Regions from separate parts of the Homo sapiens genome. Here region 1 is linked to region 2. The links are contacts of gene promoters, found by promoter capture Hi-C in blood cells and fetal thymus (Javierre and others, 2016). All regions are on one chromosome and are shown on one strand. The core of a region is centred on a gene start or on the middle of the fragment in contact, and the rest is flanking DNA. Distances in the headings are between cores, read along the strand shown. Region 1 holds the start of KRTAP13-3 (keratin associated protein 13-3). Region 2 holds the start of KRTAP20-3 (keratin associated protein 20-3).

Region 1 (7,005 bases), core at 3,321-5,820, 220 kb before region 2:
TAATTCATTTATTATGGAGTAATGAATGAATATAATCTTATTTTTAAAAATATATTCAGCAATATATTTCCACAGCAAAGATTCTGGTTCATGGTAAAGGCTGAATAAATATATTGTGAAAAAGGGTGGTACTGACAAAACATTTGACGATGTATTCTGAGACATGACTAATAAAAAACAGTCAAACAAACATGGGGTCAGGGTGTTGAGGAGGACAAAGCTGCTCTCTGTAGCCACTCATGAGGTATGCATTAATGAATAGAAATTGTTGAAATCAAATGCCTAGAAATGATTTGTGAGAGAATTTCCTGGAAAACTGGTTACATTAAGTCTTGGAAATCAGAACTGCAAACCAGTTGGTAGGCAGATGACCAGTAGCTTCTAAGATTATAATTGCATGGGCAGTAGTTGCTTGGGAACTAAACTCCTGGGTTCAAAATGCATAGCGCAAGCATCTGTCAAAGTATGCAGCAGGAGGGAGCTGGAAGAATGGAGGCAACTAGATGTAGTCCAAATAAGTGCCAGCCGATTTCCTGTTAATCATGTAGAATGGGATCAACTTGGTGACAATCAGAAGACTGTAATTCACTATGCTATATGCAGTTGCTGAAATAGAGAATAAAAGCTGCATTCTGGGAAATTTAGAGTGTTGCTAGAGATTTGGAATGGGAGAGGGTGGATGTTTCCTAACTGGTAATGACATGATATAAACTCAGGAGTTACAAGTCTCTCGTGATAAAATAATAAAACTTTCTTGTTTTGACTATCAGCTAGAAATGGTACCTTTATATAATAACCGGGGCAATTGTGGTATAAGTTCAGAGTCCCCATCATTGAGTTTTGATCATTTGTTTGTGAGCACTCTATTATACTGCTATCTATCTGTGATCAATCTATCTTTGAGTTATTTTCTAAATTTGCATGTTTACTAGTTTTGGTAGGCAGAATAATGGCTCCTAAAAGATGTTCAAATTCTAAATTCTGGAATTTGTAAATATGTTCCTTCACATGGCAAAGAAGAATTAAAGTTACAGATGAAATTAAGCTTGCTAAAACAGGGTGAGTATCTTGGATTACCCAGCCGAACCCAATGTAATTGTAAGTATGAAGTGGGAGGTAAAGGCAGAAAAGTAGGTCTAAGCGATCCACTATGAAAATGATTGGACTCACCACTGCTGTCTTTGGAGACAGAGGAATGGGACCATGAACCAAAAAATGTAGGTGGCCTCTAGAACATCCATCTCCAAACTTTTTGGTACCAGGGTCAGGTTTCCTGAAAGAGTTTTTCCACAGATTGGAGCAGGTGGGGAGGGATGGTTTGGGGATGATTCAAGCACATTCCATTTATTGTGCACTTTATTTCTATTATTATTACATTGTAATATATCATGAAATAACAATACAACTCACCAGAATGTAGAACTGGTGGGAGACCTGGGCTCGTTTTTCTGCAAATAGATGGTCCCATCTTCAGATGATGGAAGACAGATCATCAGGCATTAGATTCTCATAAGGAATGCGCAACCAAGATCTCTCGCATGTGCAGTTCACAACAGGGTTTGTGCTCTGATGAGAATCTAATGCTACTGCTGATCTGACAGGAGGTGGAGCTCAGGCAGTAACAATTGCTCAACTGCCACTCACCTCCTGCTGGGCTGCCTGGTTCCTAACATGCCATGGACCAGTACCAGTTCATGGCCCGGAGGTTGGGGACACCTTCTCTAGAATCTGTAAAAAGCAAGGAAATAGATTCTCCCTTAGAGCCTCTGGAAAGAAACTCAGCCCTGCTAATACTTTGATTTAGCCCAGTGAGGTCATCAATTCATCAGATTTTGACCTACAGAATTAAAAGATAATAAATTTGTATTGCTTAAAACTCTAAGTTTAATCTAATTTGCTATGGCAGTAATAGGAAACCAAGATTAAAGTGTATTCCTGAAAGCCAGAAAACCATTCCTGCATCTGCAATTTGGAGACAGTAACAGAGGAAACCTCAGCCTGGCCAATAAGCTATAGGTGCTCCTCATTAAACCCTTACCATTGCCTATGTTTTGGGGATATAAGGCTTGATCATTACTCTTGAGTAAATATTATGAGCATGGGACTAACTAGAATCACTAAAATTCAAAAAATCCATGAAGTTATAAAAAGGACCAAGTTTATAGAGGATTTCACAGTTTGTCATTTTAATTTTTGTAACTCAATCACTGATAATTTTTCCTATGCATTTTCTTTCATTATTCCTTATTTCTTTCCTCTAACTATATAAGCACCATGACTATTTCCTAAACATGATGGAGGAGAAGGAGGAGGGAGAAGAAGAAGAAGAGGAAAATAGGGAGCAAATGACGGAAGTGAGGAGATAAGAGAAAATGTCACAGCTGGATAGATCCAATAAAATAAATTGGGTGGAATAAAGTAGTTCTACTCACAGCTCTACAATAGCTTGCTGAGTAACATTTTAAAATTCTATCTAACGCTACTGTTTCCATTTCCACCTCTGTAGAATAAGAATATTGAAGTCGATGAACTCTACAGCTCTCTTTATATTTCATATTTTATCACATTCGCAGTAAAAGAGGAAGAGAACATGATGAGATGACTGTTATGTACTTATAAGACTAAGTTTTTTGTGAAGTGTCTAATAATCTGCATTATATTTCTAATTTCAGAGAATGTTAGAAGATCTTATAAAATAAAGAATAGGAAAATACTTGAACATTGCTTGTTTTATATAAATATTATGTCTGCCATTACCATCGTATTGTCTTAGTACCTTACTTTTTATAACACTTGGATGTAAGAGAGCAGAACAGCATAAGTACAGTCTATCCAATTTTATTTCAAGATACGACAAAAAACAATCATTTTTGATGATAGTAAAGGCTTCAGAGTTTTCAATTAGATTCAGTTTATATTTTGGCAAAGAACCCAGGTACAACTAACACCTGCTGAGCCTACTTCCTTCCCATCAAAGTTTGTTGCCTGCCTTTTTAAACAAATGGAGATCATTTGAGCAGATTGAAAACAGTAATTGGGGTTCAGGGATTTAGCTAATTAAAAATAAGTGATACTCCTGCACTATGATACCTGAAGCTCATAGGTGCTCTTTTCTAAACATTTACATCCATGTGTTAGTCTTCCATTTTAATATACTTCATGAACAGGCCTAATCATATAAGTATGAATTTTGTTCATGTACTCTTCAAACTTTTCTGTTACATTCTGTCCTTAGAGATGCATGGCATATTCAAGGAATGAACAAGGATAGTCAATGCTCTTAATACTATCAGTAACTTACTTTTTATAACGCTTTGATGTGAGAGAACAGAACAGTATAAATACAGCCTATCCAATTTTATTTCAAGATACAACCCAAACAATCATTTTTGATGATTCTGATGAAAGGTTATCATCAAAAATGATAGCAAAGGCTATCTTAACTATCCTGACGAGGATACTTAAGAGAAAGGCTATCCTTGGAAACTGTGAGAATCCCAGAAACTCCTGCTTAAAGAGGAGGAAAATATCTAAAGCCCAACCAAAATTAGTGTGGAGATCCCACAATCTGGGCATTGCAAAGCCCATTACCAGAAGCAATGACAATGCACATCCTAGACAATGCTTTACTAATAAATAGCAATATTAACAGCACATTTGGACAGAAGAATAAAGAGTTTATTAAAATAAAATCTTTTTCACTTCCTATCTCTTTTGGAAAGAAATACAAAAACTATAAATTATATCTATAATGCAGTTTGGATCACTCATTGATCCAATGGCTTCAGATATCTGAATTATAAAATCCATGCCTTCCCTTCCCAGAGTTATAGATCCAGATTGATCCAGTTATAGATTATTCATTGATCCAAACTGCAGTTTGACAGAACTAACATACAACCCAGTTTTTGAGGGCTGGAAAGTAAGGAAGACCTGGTGATCAATAATATTAGAATACTTCTCAAAGGAAGAAATTAACAGATGACCTTACTAAAGAATATGCATTTCTCAAATGAGTTTTACCAGTCACCACATTAGTCAGTAGAAACCAGATCTACAGAATGGCTGATAACAAGATGAATGGAACCACCTTCTAGGTGGAAAATAGATTGGATGGCAGAATCTGGATCTATAACTCTGGGAAGGGGAGGTATGGATTCTATAATTCAGATATCTGAAGCCATTGGATCCACAGCCCAGTGAGGAGCAGCTCCTGGATCCACAGCTCAGGGAGCAGCAGCTATTGGATCCAAAACCCCGAGACCCAACATGCATAGTCAGGCAAGAATTGCAGAGCATGTGAGTCCTGGGGTAGTAGCAGGAGGTGTGGCAGGGGCTGGACTCAACACACAATGTCTGACAGCTGTTGGGCCTCCAGCAGGTCTCCTGACAGCCCCTATAGAGAGAGGAACCCAGCTGGCAGGTGCTGGGAGAGCAGAGGTCAGTGCTGTAGACCAGGTTGCTGGGGTAGGAAGAGCCACAGGAGGAGCCTGGGTAGTGCAAGTAACCCCCGTGGGAGCAGGAGGAGAAGTTTCTAGAGCAACAGTTGTAGGACATGTTGACGGGAAGATGTGAGTTCAGCTGAGTGTACCTGGGAAGATTCTGAGTTTTAACGTGGCATCCTGGACAGTGTCATTTATATCCTCTCAGCAATAGGTGTGGTGCACAGCAGAGTCATCCCTCACATTTTTGTGCTCCCTCATTTACATATGTGTAGCTCAGCAATCTTGCCTGTAATTGCATTTGAATACTTTTCCACATGTTGTATTTATGCGTGCTATAATTTTGGTGTTATAGCACAAAGCCAATGAACTGCACTTATGCCAGAAATGCTATGACTGTTTCGTATTAATATTTATTTTATTATGTCTAGGAAAGCACCTCCTTTTCCTCCTAGCATAATTTTCATGTGTCTTGTTATTGGCTGTTATGGGCAATAATTTTCCCTAAACAGTGAGAAATGAGATAAAGTTACATGTCTTTTTTGTCAATGGATTAGAGACACAACTTTGGCCTTAATGAGAAACCTGCTGAAAACTAAACCTACATGTCACCATCCTTTCTCATTCCACAAAAGTTTCCTTCATCTATTATGTACTGTTACTCACTGTGTCTCACATCCAGTGTAGAGGGAAAAGTATGAGCCAAGACAAATTGAATAACATTGATGCCTATGACCAGAAGGAAACCTGGACAATTATTTGGAGACATGGTGACAGCAAGGGATGGAACTGAGACAATCACAAATGAAAAACAATTCTGGGGCCTTATGAAGAGAATTAAAGTGTTAAATAAACACACACCATTGAAATGACAGAAAAAAATAAATGAATTTTAGATTCAATGCATCTAATATGAGGCCCATGGTCCTAAGAGATTCTCATTCATATGTGTGGCAGCCTGGAGAATTCTCATCTCGGATCTTAAATTACAGGAGGCTTAAATAACCAGTGGTCCTACCTGCTGTGTTCTAAAAGTTAACACTGCATTTTTGGGGAAGGCTTGCTTTCTCTGGGCTGCTCCCAAGCAAAGACTGAGCACAGTGGGATATAGGAATTCCTGGAAGACAATTGACGGCCAGCTTTGACTCAGGGTTTCCTCAACGGCCTTAAAGAACTACTGTCTCCTGCATAGGTCTCAAGCACTTCTTTCTCTTTCTCCTTCACTTGGGCCAGACCTATGTCCAAATCTTACAACTCTCCCAGCCTCTCTCAGGGGAGACTCTGGAAAGAGAAAAAATGCAGAAAATCTGTAAATATTTAATCTTGTTTATACTTTTTAAAAAGTGATACTGTTTGGATTTGTGTCCCTGCCCAAATCTCAGGCCAAATTGTAATCCCCAGTGTTGGGGAAGGCCTGGTGGGAGATGATTGGATCATGGGGGTGGATTTCCCCCTTGCTGTTCTCGTGCTAGTGAGTTAGCTCTCATGAGATCTGGTTGTTTAAAAATGTGTAGCACTTCCCCCTTCACTCTTTCTACTGCTTCCCTTGTAGGACTGCCTGCTTCTCCTTCATTTTCTGCCATGATTGTAAGTTCCCTGAAGCCTCCCCAGCCGTGCTTCGTGTACAGCCTGCAGAACTGTGAGTCAATTAAACCTCTTCTCTTTATAAATTACCCAGTCACAGGTAGTAGTTTATAGCAGTGTGAGAATAGACTAATACAAAAAGTAAACCAATTTTTTGAAGGATAGCAAAAAATTTAAACTGAACATTTTATCTTGAGTATGCCAATCAGGGTAAACAAAAAAAAAATTATTTCAGTTGTTCAATGATTTAGAGAAACAATAAACAAACTTTTGAGTTTAGTTTTGGAGCTTATGTTCAGACTGTCTCCAGGTAATATCTGCTAAAACTCATTTTTTCAGCCATCTCCACCTTAGTTAGACTAGATCTACACCATTCTCCTATTATTTCACGTGTGAGTTGATGTCTTTTATCAAGATTGGTAAATTCCCAACTGTACTCTCTTCAAATATTGCTTCTGCCCCATCCTCTCATCTTTCTTTTGCTTAGATTCCAATTATAAGCAAGGTACACTTTTTAACTACATTACATATGGCTTATACTCTTTTTTCTATTTTCAATCTTTATATAGAAGTATTGGCTTTTGCTTATTGAGGTTGTAACCTGGATGGTTAGTGAAAGCAAGATTTTCCAGCATGTTAGTGACAAGTTGCCTGGTTATTTTGAAAAGAGAAGCAGGTAGGTGCCAAACGTTGTAATTTTCAACTATGGATGAGATTCTGTTGAAAACATATCTCAAATATCCAAAGCCATTATTCATAGCCCAGTGAAGAGAATCATCTGTCAAAAGATCAGAAGCCTTTTGATGTATATCCCTGAGCCATATATTTTATGTGAAAGATCTCAATTTTTAATTGTTGATAAATAATTCAGTCAAAAAAAGAAACAACAATGATGAGGCTCCATATTAAACAGAACAAATAATATGATCTCCAAGATGAAGTGAGTCCAAAGTTGTGGCATTTACAAGTTCTTCTTAAA
Region 2 (6,802 bases), core at 656-3,155:
AGTATCTCAAAATAATAAGAGCTAGCTATGACAAACCCACAGCCAATATCATACTGAATGGGCAAAAACTGGAAGCATTCCCTTTGAAAACTGGCACAAGAGAGGGATGCCCTCTCTCACCACTCCTATTTAACATAGTGTTGGAAGTTCTGGCCAAGGCAATCAGGCAGGAAAAGGAAATAAAGGGTATTCAGTTAGGAAAAGAGGAAGTCAAATGTTCCCTGTTTGCAGATGACGTGATTGTATATCTAGAAAACCCCATCATCTCAGCCCAAATTTTCTAGCCCTCTTATTCAGAAAGTTGAGCATACACACCAGCTCTCTGTCATCAAGTGAAGGTGGGGAACATAAGGTTGGGCTTAAGGGAGTTGTGAAAGCACAAACAACTTACAGAAGCAATTGGCTTGGATTCTCATGGTTTCCTCTCTGCTGAGTTGTCTCTTCTTTCTCAACATACACCTATGAATTTATGCTGATTTTCCAGTTGGAGAAGGAAAAATTAGTCCTGGATTATAGATGGTTCTGCCAATATGGTAGCACTGCCTAAAAGTGGATGACTGAAGTACAACAGATCAAATCGGGGATTACCCTAAAGGTCAGTGGTGAAGGAAAATTTTCAATTATTTTTAATCATCTTAAGAAATGATAGTATCTAGATTCAGCCTGCCTTTGAGAACTTAAGTCTACATATAAGTACATGATACAGACAGAGTCAATATCCCTACAGAAAAATTAATAGTCATGCCTTCTGTTATATTTGGGTCTCAAAAATGTCTACTTTACGTTCCTGTGACTTTGGAATCAGATAAGATTCTCAATGCTTTTCTTTTCTCCGAAGAAACATATCTACATTGCAGTGCAGGTACAAGATAATCAACCAAACAACTTTTTAAAGAATGCTTAAGGTGTGGAGAAGAAGGAACTAAACAGGCAAGAAAAGGGCACTACTTTTAAGAGAGCATAGCAATAGGAAAACTACAGAATAATATGTGATTGGTGGGAGTTTGTACAGAATAAATCACAGTTGATCCTTGAACAATGCAGGGATTAGGAGTGCCAACCTCCACGCAGTTGAAAATCTGAGTATAACTTTTGACTCCCCAAAAACTTAACTACTAATAGCCTACTGTTGACCAGAAGCCTTACCAATAACATAAACAGTTGATTAATACATGCTTATGTTACCTGTAATGAGAGATTATACTCCTATAATAAAGTAGGCTAAAGAAAAGAAAATTTTATTAAGAAAATAAAGAAAAAGAGAAAATGGATTTACTATTCACTAAGTGGAAGTGGATCATCATAAAGGTCTTCAGCCTTATTGTCTTCATGTTGAGTAGGTTGAGGAGGAGAAGGAGGAGGAGGGGTTGGTCTTGCTGCCGGAGTGGCAGAGGTGAAGAAAATCTGCTTAATATAAGCGTATCTGTGCAGTTCAAACTCATGGTATTCAAGAGTCCACTGTATTTGCTACTAAGTTTTATAGCGATAACATCACAGCTGTGTTGATTAAGATTTAAATATGCATATAAGAAGAAGGGTATTATTAGCAAAGTGATCGGAAGAGGATGGCATTTGCCTCCTCCACGTGATGTCATCCAACATAGCTACAAAGGTTAAATTCGGCATCAGTGTGAGTAAGGTCATGGAACTCAGTATTTTTTTTTCCTTTAAAGTCTATCAGCTGTTTGGCAGGATCATAACATACTGAGAAGAAAATCTCAATTTTATCAGGATAGGGAGTCTTTTTTTAAAATCTAAAGATACAAGATTAATGAGATTTTTAAATACAGGTTGGTCTATATGACAATGTCAGGAGTGCCTGTGGTTTGTCACACCTCCACTGAGACTGATAAAAGACCCAGTATTTTAGTGTTTTTATGCACTAAAACTTATGCTGGCCTCTCAGGCTAGAGACTTAAATCCTGACACAATGAGCTACTATGGCAACTACTACGGAGGACTGGGCTATGGCTATGACTGTAAATATAGTTATACCTCTGGCTTTGGTGCCTTTAGAATCCTGGACTGTGGCTACAGATGTGGCTGTGGTGGGGTATGGATTTGACTGCTGCCACCAATATGATTATGCTACATGCTTATTATCAGGCACTGACTGAATAATATCTACAATTGGGTCCATTTTCTTATGAGACAGGGGTGCTGTTCTACTACACTTTTTTTAATTTGTTTAACCCAATTAGAATTCTTAATGATTCCCTATAATCCCAGCACTTTAGGAGGCCGAGGCGGGTGGATCACCTGGGGTTAGGAGTTCGAGACCAGCCTGGCCAACATGGCAAAATCCCATCTCTACTAAAAGTTAAAAAAATAGCCAGGTGTGGTGGTGGGTGCCTGTAGCCCCAGCTACTGGGGAGGCTGAGGCAGGAGGATCACTTGAACCCAAAGGCAGAGGTTGCAGTCAGCCGAGATGGCACCACTGCACTCCAGCCTGAGCAACAAAATGAGATTCCATCTCAAAAAAACAAAAATAATGCTTAGTTATTCAATCTAATTCTAGGCAAAGAACACACATCATTAAATTCACACTAAATCCACATCAGTGCCCCAGATTAACTACATTTTTCTCTTCCAAACTGATGTGTTTTCATAATTTACCAAGCAAATTACTTTTTGATATGTTTCAGGAGTAGGGAGCTCTAGGTTTATTTTTAATTAAACTTACTTTGGCCAGGCCAATGTCATTCATTTTTTAAATTTATTAATTACTCACTTGTTTAATAAGTCCTCATTAAGTAATTTCTATATAGGGCTTCCTGTTAAGTCTTAGTGTTACTTATGGGAGAAGAGTTTTTAAGCAGAAAAACAAATGTTTAAATAAACATGTATGCTACAACATGATAGGTGATGTAATAGCCACGTAGGAACACAGAGGAGAAGCTCATGTTTGGATGCAAAAGAGCGAGATTGTAGAGCAAACAGATCAAAAATATTCTCATTGAAGGTTACATTTGAATAAATTTTTAACCAACGAAAAATACATTGGAGGTAAAGTGTATGCCAGGCAGGGGAAACAAATATGCAAAGCCATGAAAAAAGTATTGCACTGCAAAGTCATAAATTGATGTTATTTCTTGAGAGAACAGTGGGCAAAGTCACTGGCAGGAAATGAAGCCCTGGGCAGTGAAGAGAAACTAGAACATCAAGGCCATATATATTTTGCAATGGGTGTACTGGATAATGTTTTATAAAGTTGTAATATTTTCCTTTACCTGGATGAGATTGGAAACTATTATTCTAAGTGAAGTAACTCAGGAATGGAAAACCAAACATCGTATGTTCTCACTGATATGTGGGAGCTAAACTATGAGGATGCAAAAGTATAAGAATGATACAATGGACTTTGGGAATGTGGGGGGAAGGGTGAGAAGGAGGTGAGGGATAAAAGACTACAAATATGGTGCAGTGTATACTGCTTGGGTGACAGGTGCACCAAAATCTCACAAATCACCACTAAAGAACCTACTCATGTAATCAAATACCAACTGTACCCCAATAACTCATGGAAAAATAAAATAAAAATAAGAAGCGCATGTTTTATACAAATAATTATGGCATCCAATTGAAGGAAAGGTGGCCAAGGAGTATGACCACAGACCAAACGACCATTCTGGAGGCTGTGTAAGCAGCCAATGCAAGGTCTTAATGTAAAAGCGGCAACTAAGATTCCTATGAAGGCCTAGATCAAATAGATTATTATGGGATAGAAGTTAAAGAACATGCCCATGTGGTATGAGAATGGAGGGGGCTAAGGAATAAAACAGAGCACAAAATAAACAAGGACTTGAACAGTCAACGACTGACTGTGGAACTAATGGCACATGTGATACGGGAATCGGAACATTTGGGGGACAATCAAAGTGGAGCCGCAAAAGTTTACTTGAGTACACGTAAATGTCATCTGTGGGAGGGCCAAATAAAGATTTTTCCTGGCAGGTTGTTACAAAAATCTACAACTCAGGAGAAAACTGAGTTTTAAATATAGAAAATAATTGGATAAAGTTCGTCGTAACTTCAGAAATACAGTGTATTAGTCCGTTCTCACTCTGATCTGAAGAAATATCCAAGACTGGGTAATTTATAAAGGAAACAGGTTTAATTAACTGACAGTTCTACATACCTGGGGAGGCCTCAGGAAACTTACAATCATGGCAGAAGCGGAAGAAGTCACGTCCTTCTTCACAAGGCAGCAAGAAGGAGAAGAATGAGCACAAGGGGGAAAATCCCCTTATAAAACCATCAGAAGTCGTGAGAAAGTACTCGCTCTCAGGAGAACAGCAGCATGAGGGTAACCACCCCATGATTCAATTACCTCTCTCTGGGTCCCTCCCATGCCACCTGAGGATTATGGGAACTGCAATTCAAGATGAGATTTGGGGAGGGGGAACAAGGCCAAACCATATCATAGAGTATTCCAATAATTATAGGTGAATTAAAAAAAAAGGTGTTTGCAAATCAGGGAAGGAGCAGATAAAAGTTAAAAAGGAAATGAAAAGGGAGTCATGGCAGGAAAATCAAGGGCCCACCAACTTTCTGGGAAGAGAAACTTCTTAATCTTCCTCTCTTCAAACATGGATTTTTTCAGAAAGGATTTCTAGAGTAATAACGTAAATTCTGACGCTGAGCTAGATGCTGACAATTACACGGTCAGTAGTATTGGCATGTTCCCTGCCTTCACAAAGGTTAACATCAAGAGGGGTTGACAAAATATCATAAATGCAATCACAGTAAAGCAACAGAGGCCTTAGTGCTTAGGTATGGGAGAGTCTCTCCAGTCCTCCATGTGTTGGTATGGACCCTAAACTCCATCCACATGATTGCCATGGGAGCAGCAATTTTGAGTATGATCTTCATGCCCTGACAGGAGTTGATGGGTCCAGATATGGCCATTTGAACAAAATGAAGCAGAAAATTCCCAGAATTTGCAAACAAAAGCCAATATGTTTTCTACCTGATGAAGCTTTAAGGTCTAACCCTTGTGATCTATTAGAATAGTAGCTATGTGCTTCTCCTTGTAGAATGCCCATTTGAAGTTTATTATAAGGTACCTGCTTATGTTTTCTGCTGAAGAATTCTATGTATGTGCTACTCAGAGTTGGATCACAGAAAATCTTTTTTAACTTTTGTACACTGGCCATGTCAGAGATATTCCATCAAGTCTAAGATGTAAGATGTTCAGCATCCTAAAATAAACAGATGAGTGAGCTTGAAAACCATCACTGCTCTCCAGACCTACACAATGATCACAAATGCTGTGCTCTGTTCATTCATTATACACTTGTTTACTGCAGAGTTACCAACTCTCAAGCTGGTTTGCTTTGTATGGGAGTGGATAGAACATCGTTATAATTGAGTTATTATGCAGTATCCAGAAACCATACTTAGTAAATTGTGGCAGGAAGCTTAAAATTTTCTGATAGTTTAGAAATATAGCACCATGAGATATCAGAGGGGTCATTTTCTCTAAAGTTGTGATAGTGATAACAGGTTAAGAAAAGACTGTGAAGAAATTCTCTAATACATGACAGTCTGGAGCAAAATTTCTGGTTTGGTAGCAAAAGGCAATTGCAAAAATTACACCTTAACAAGGTTGAAAGGAAAAATATTGACGGGGAAAACCCAGAACGCTGAGTTCTTCCAGTCTCTTTTAAGAGCCTTAAAACCCTTAACACCTGTGGGATTGAATCATGTTTGGCTCCTAAACAGAGAGATTTTACTCCAATTCCCTGTACGGACCAAAGTGGTCAGTAGATCTATAGCTCTAAAAGGAACAACAGCTCAAAACTTAAAACATTAAATAAAACATTTACTTATATCTATATGTCTGTATCTGTTTATGAAATATATACATTTATATATATATATCGAGAGAGAAATATGGTAGATAATTAAGTATCCAGTCATCTGGATGGGATGGGGTAGGAAGATGATGTGTAGTGTTGGATTGGTAGGTGGAGATGAGAGAGGGTAAATTGGTAAGCAAAAGGTAAGCAATTTAAGAAGACAGAAACTTAACTGAAAAAAATTCCAGAACAATGAATATATCGTGTATATGTTTACATTTATTATGTCATATATAGTACACATAGAGACTGCATCTAATTACTTACAGCATATCCAAAATACATACCAAGATAAAAAGGGCAAGGGCCTCATATGTGTAATGCAATTCTTTTTTGTCTGAAACAACAAACTCCAAACCCCCATATGTGTGTATGCATGGGTGGAGATAAAATTGCATATGTATGTATGAGGAAGTAGAAAGTAATGGAAGGTCATTTGAAGGGAATGCCTGTGGGCAGCAGCATGAGACATAACTAACACCATCTTTATGCATATTTGTATTGCTTTACTTATTATTACAGATGTGCATTATTTTCTGAATAAAGAAAACATCAAATGAATGAAAAATTTGAAAATAAAGGGATGCTTTAAATTTGAAAACTAAAGGGATGCTTTAGATAATGGAAAACTTAATCATGAACCTATGGAATTGGGGAAAGCTCTAGGGAACATAACTTTATTAACTTTTGCTTGATCTACAATGTATTTGTCAATTTTTACTGTAAAAATTGTTAGTATTTGCTTAGAAACAGTTGACACTTTTTAATATTTATTTACATTTGGTGTACCTTTTTGACATATCCTGAAGAGAAGGGCTACTTGCTCATAGCACTCCAAACAACAGCAGATGATAGTCATAAAATCCAAACAAATGAGGTAATGTAAAATGTAATGACAATGTAAGCATAAGTTTTCCACAAGCATACCAGATCTTATTCTC

What was found. Contacts are between HindIII fragments. The CHiCAGO score rates a contact against its expected background, and 5 or more counts as called.
Region 1: a contact is called between the fragment with the promoter of KRTAP13-3 here and the fragment with the promoter of KRTAP20-3 in region 2, in 2 of 17 cell types (neutrophils and monocytes). The highest score is 9.7, in neutrophils.

The regions. Positions count from the first base shown.
Region 1 is chr21:30,421,356-30,428,360 of GRCh38, forward strand. KRTAP13-3 (keratin associated protein 13-3) reads right to left here and starts at 4,571. Exons shown (of 1, transcript NM_181622.2): 1 at 4,025-4,571. The coding sequence starts at 4,557. The coding sequence ends at 4,039. All of the region lies in intron 3 of LOC105372772 (a long non-coding RNA gene), which reads right to left. The HindIII fragment of the contact is 9,043 bases long and covers 1,044-7,005 here.
Region 2 is chr21:30,640,959-30,647,760 of GRCh38, forward strand. It overlaps KRTAP20-3 (keratin associated protein 20-3), which reads left to right and starts at 1,906. Exons shown (of 1, transcript NM_001128077.1): 1 at 1,906-2,178. The coding sequence starts at 1,931. The coding sequence ends at 2,065. The HindIII fragment of the contact is 10,269 bases long and covers 1-4,976 here.